Linked DNA regions of Homo sapiens: region 1 is linked to region 2. Evidence: promoter capture Hi-C in 16 types of primary human blood cells and fetal thymus (Javierre and others, 2016). All regions are on one chromosome and are shown on one strand. The core of a region is centred on a gene start or on the middle of the fragment in contact, and the rest is flanking DNA. Distances in the headings are between cores, read along the strand shown.

Evidence for each region. The method cuts DNA at HindIII sites, captures the fragments that hold promoters and counts their contacts. A CHiCAGO score of 5 or more calls a contact.
Region 1: a fragment that was not itself captured here is called in contact with the fragment with the promoter of HEATR6 in region 2 in 1 of 17 cell types (M1 macrophages); the score reaches 5.6 in M1 macrophages.

Annotation. Positions count from the first base shown.
Region 1 is chr17:59,917,212-59,919,911 of GRCh38, reverse strand. The region is part of intron 4 of RPS6KB1 (ribosomal protein S6 kinase B1); the gene reads right to left. Among named protein-coding and RNA genes, the nearest start is that of RPS6KB1, 25 kb to the right of the region's middle. The HindIII fragment of the contact is 1,413 bases long and covers 740-2,152 here.
Region 2 is chr17:60,077,591-60,080,325 of GRCh38, reverse strand. HEATR6 (HEAT repeat containing 6) reads left to right here and starts at 1,405. Exons shown (of 20, transcript NM_022070.5): 1 at 1,405-1,630. The coding sequence starts at 1,412. HEATR6-DT (HEATR6 divergent transcript) reads right to left here and starts at 1,017. Exons shown (of 2, transcript NR_135648.1): 1 at 854-1,017. RefSeq lists a silencer at 1,619-1,748. The HindIII fragment of the contact is 13,067 bases long and covers 1-2,735 here.

The DNA.
Region 1 (2,700 bases), core at 197-2,696, 160 kb after region 2:
ATACACAAAAGAAGTTGAATCTATCTATAGAACCCCAGCAAGGTTCAAACATTAGAGGAAAAATTAGAAGGAAGGGAAAAAATTAAAGGAACTGAAGACTGTAGAAGGCAGAAGGTGGAGTGCTAAAAACAGGGAGATCATCTACAAGTCTGTGTAAGGAACAGACAGACCAAAAAGGCTCCCATCTCCATACTAAGTCGAAGAACTAACCCTAGGAGAGTTAAATTCCCCGGGACAAAAAAAAAAAGTGAAAGATTAGATCCACAGAGTAAAGTACTAATGTAAAAACTCGAGTTTAGTGAAAGTCCGCGTGTTGAGAGGTAAGATCTCCATCTTCTCTCACTCAGCTCCAGAATGCTTTTTCCAGGCAAATGAATGGCAGAACTTTCTTAGCACCAACTGATCCTCCCCAGAAAAAAAAAGATCTACAGACAATATTTACTTATTTATTTATTTGAGATGGAGTCTCGCTCTTGTTGTCCAAGCTAGAGCACAATGGTGCAATCTTGGCTCACTGCAACCTCCACCTCCCAGGCTCAAGCGATTCTCCTGCCTCAGCGCCCCCAAACCAGCTGGCCAGGCTGGTTTTGAACTCCTGACCTCAGGTGATCAACCTGCCTCAGCCTCCGAAAGTGCTGGGATTACAGGCGTGAGCCACCACACCCAGCCCTACAGACACTATTATTTGAAGTTGTTGATCAAGTGCCAGCTAACCACTTGACTACCCTGCAGAGAAGCTTACACACACAGAACTTCTGATCAGCTTTTCAGAGTTCTACTCTTAAATATGAATAATCAGGCCAGGCGCAGTGGATGGGTTATTGAGGCCTAGGTGGACAGATCACTTGAGGTCAGGAGTTCGAGATCAGGCTGACAACATGGCGAAACCCTGTCACTACTAAAAATGCAAAAATTAGCCAGGCAGGGTGGCACATGCCTGTTATCCCAGCTACTTGGGTGGCTGAGGCACAAGAATCGCTTGAACCCAGGAGGTGGAAATTGCAGTGAGCCGAGACTGTGCCACTGCACTCCAGCCTAGACGACAGAGCAAGACTCCAACTCAAAAAAAAAAAAAAAAAAAAGAATAATCAGTGAATGACACCAGACATCTAAAGAAGGCCTCTAACATGGAACAAAGTGACTAAAACTGACTAAATCAAAGTCAAAGAAAACAGAAAGTCAAAAAAGAACATGCGTAAAACAAAAGAACATTTCAAATAATTATAATTAAACTCTCAGAGAGGCTGGGCGTGGTGGCTCACACCTGTAATCCCAGCACTTTGGGATGCCGAGGTGGACGTTTTGCCTGAGGTCAGGAGTTCAAGACCAGTCTGGCCAACATGATGAAACCCGATATCTGCTAAAAATACAAAAATTAGCCAGGTGTGGTAGCGGGCACCTGTAATCCCAGCTACTCAGGAGGCTGAGGCAGGAGAATCGCTTGAACGCAGGAGGCAGGGGTTGCAGTGAGCCAAGATCGCACCACTGCACTCAAACCTGCACGACAGAGTGAGACTCTTGTCTCAAAAAAATAATAATAAACATTAAAAAAAAATAAAACTCTCAGAGGGGTAAGAGAAGATATTATACTCATTAAACAGGTTGCTATAAAACAAAAACAACAGAAAGAATTCTGGAGAATCACAAATACAACAGCTTTAAAAAAAAATTTAGTCAAATGGCTGGGCACAGTGGCTTACGCCTGTAATCCCAGCACTTCAGGAGGCCAAGGCGGGCGGATCACCTAAGTCAGGAGTTCGAAACCAGCCTGACCAACATGGAGGAACCCTGTCTCTTCTAAAAATACAAAATTAGCCGGGCATGGTGGCACATGCCTGTAATCCCAGCTACTCGGGAGGCTGAGGCAGGGGAATCGCTTGAACCCAGGAGGCGGAGGTTGCGGTGAGCCAAGATTGCGCCATTGCACTCCAGCCTGGGCAACAAGAGCAAAACTCCATCTCAAAAAAAAATTGAGTAGAAGAAAGTAAACAAGACAAAGAAATGGAAACGTGGAAAAGATAAGAAAAATTAGATGATCGGTCCAGGAGATCCAACATCCAACTAATTGCAATTCCAAGAAGAGAAAACAGTGGGAAGGAAATTACCAAATAAATCACATAAGAAAATTTCCTAGAACTGAAAGACTAAAGCTTTAAGATTAAAAGAATAAAAATAGGCTGGGCACAGTGGCACATGCCTGTAATCCCAACACTTTGGGAGCCAAAACAGAACAACTGCTTGAGGCCAGGAGTTCCAGGCCAGCCGGGGAAACACAGGAAGACCTTGTCTCTACGAAACATTTTAAAAATGAACTGGGCGTGGTGGCATGCATCTGCAGTCCTAGCTACTCAGAAGTTGTGGCAGGAGGATCGCTTGAGCCCAGGAGTTACAGGTTACAGTGAAGTATGATCACACCACCACACTCCAGCCTGGGAAACAGAGTGAGACCCTGTCTCTTAAAAATAAATAAATTAATTAATTTAATTAAATAGGCCGGGCGCAGTGGGCCATACCTGTAATCCAATCCCAGCACTTTGGGTGGCCGAGGCGGGTGGATCACTTGAGCCCAGGAGTTCAACACCAGCCTGGGCAACATGGTGAGTGCCCATCTCTACATTTTTTTTTATTAGCCAGGCCTGGTGGTGCGTGTCTGTGGTCCCAGCTACTCAGGAGACTGAGGTGGGAGGATAGCTTGAGCCC
Region 2 (2,735 bases), core at 156-2,655:
ATATGTACACAGACTAGGAATAAGAAATAATATACCAGCACAACGGAATCTAAATCCAAACAAAAAAATTAACATTTCTCCCCAAGCCCAAAGTCTTCAGAAAACTACCTCTGCTAAAGCATACCCCCAATTTTCACTGCTGAACAGAAATGTTTTGTTCTCAGGATAAAACATACATTCAGGTGACTTCAAGGTTTTCCCTAAGGGCCAAGGGTGAGGATTTGCTTTATATTTGCATAACTCAAAGGCCCTAGAGATGGTTTTCCCAATCTGCCCAACTGTGAAAGTCAAGCCTTCACTTCCTGGATGACTGAAAAGTGATCACAGATTTTTAAATGGCCATTTTATTCTCCAGCTTCTTGACTTCAAGGTTTCAGAAAATCTTGGGGTGTCTCATTTCAACCCGGTCACTCTTAGGCAGATTATATTTTACATGATTCAGTTAAACTCCAAAATTACTCTTCTAGTGGGGCGAGGTGCCTCATGATCCATGAGAGGATTCACACTGGGAAAAAGGGAGAAAAAGGAACCAAGAGTACAGCCAGCTGTCACTTAAGTAGGGAAAGCTGCCTTATATTCCACTGACCAGATTGCAATCACAGAGCCACAGCCAACTGCAAGGAATGCTAGGGAACGTAGCCTTTATTCCGGGTGGTTTTGTGCCTGGGGAAAGATTTTAGAAGAGTAGAAGGGTGCCTTAGAACTAGCGGTTTCTGCTACTGCCATCCACAGCATACCCTCTCCAACTCCAGCCCGAATCTGAAACTCTAGTACGGAACAGAGTACCTTCAGCCCTGTCCAGGAACAAACTCTGGGAGGACAAACTTTCTGGAAGCACAAATTGAGAACTCACTTTTCAGTCAGGGCTCAAGAAGGAGTGGCCGGCGAAAAATCTCCAAGCCAATTTCTTTCTTTTTTTTTTTTTCTGAGACGGAGTCTCGCTCTGTCGCCCAGGCTGGAGTGCAGTGGCGCGATCTTGGCTCATTGCAAGCCCTGCCTCCCGGGTTCACGCCATTCTCCTGCCTCAGCCTCCCGAGTAGCTGGGACAACAGGCGCCCGCCACCACTCCCGGCTAATTTTTTTTTTTTTTTTTTTTTTGTATTTTTAGTAGAGACGGGGTTTCACCGTGTTAGCTAGGATGGTCTCGATCTTCTGACCTCGTGATCCGCCCGCCTCGGCCTCCCAAAGTGCTGGGATTACAGGCGTCAGCCACCGAGCCCGGCCTCCAAGCCAATTTCTGACAAGCATCTGCAGGGTACCGGTCGGAGGAGTCCCGTAGTCATGGAAACCCCTCTGAGCCCCAGTCCGGTCTAAAAAAGGTACTTTCGGAACTAGAGCGCGCGGAACGGGAGGATGTCCCGGAAGTATTTCCCTGGGATCACCCCACCCACCCCCCCCGCCCGTAGAAAAGATGGCTGCTGTGCAAGTTGTCGGTTCGTGGCCTTCCGTGCAGCCGCGGGAGGCACCGCGGGAAGCAATCCCTGAGCGAGGCAATGGGTTTCGCCTCTTGTCTGCCAGGCTCTGCGCCCTGCGCCCGGATGACAGCAGCTCCGCCCGCACCGAGATCCACCTGCTCTTCGATCAGCTCATCTCCGAGAACTACAGCGAGGGCAGTGGCGTGGCCCCGGAGGTAGGCGGCGCGCCCTGCTGGCCCCGGCCCCGGCCCCACCCCTCCGGGAACCCAGCTGGTGGCCTCTGCCTGCCTTTCCCTGATCTTCCCACTCTCGCGCCTGATGATTTAGTTTCAGGATGGCGTGCCCCCTCCAACCTTGGCACATTCTTAGTTCTCCATTTGGAAGACCCTGCAGTGCTTGGCACGCTCGAGTCATTCAAAACCCAACTTGACGACTCCTGCTCTGATAATGCCTCGGGTTTCCTCTCTGATACCAACTTTCCATCCGCCCGCACCCTCCTTCACTCCCTCTCTGTGCACCCAGAACACTTGGTTGACAAAATGCATTACTACTGTTTATTGCGTACATGGTACACGGACCACGTGGGAATCTTAGAACTTGCGTAGTATTAGGGCTTGTTTGCTAATGAAAATACTGAAGCTCGTAAAAATACAGTATACAAAACTCTGCCACAAAGCCCCTATGTTTTCTGTTCCTACACACTAGCTCCTCCCCTCTGCCGTCTTTCTGAGTAATCTTACACACATCAGGCCTTAAATTAATGAATTCTCTGAACTGTTGACACCATGGCCTTCTGGCCCTACGTAGGAAAGAGGGAAGTGGTGCAAGTTGCCTGCTTGCACAGGCATCTCAAACTAGACAGTTCCTAAAGATGAAATTCATTAGCTCCAAACACGCATTCCCGTCCCCAGTCCATCCCACCTTCCAACACACATGCATCATCCACCAAGTCACACCAGACACAAACACTGGTTCTTCCCTCCTTCATCCCAGATCCTGACCAACTCAGGTATTTCAGAATGTGTCTCATATATATTTCTCAGTTCATCCCCTCCTGTCTATTCCCATAGCGAGTGCCTTAGACCTCAGGCAAGGCGACTTATGCCTGGACTGTTCGCTGATCCCCTCTGACTGATCTCCTGCCTCCTGTCTAGCTCCTCTCCAAGCCAGTCATTCCTCCAATGCCAGAATGATCTTTTCTTTAGGAGGAAAAAAAATTGTTCATAAACTTTAAAATCTGCTTTGGAAAAGTCTTCAATACGTATTGGTAAATGGTTGAAGCAAGTTGCAGGACAATTCATACAGAATGAGATCAGTATG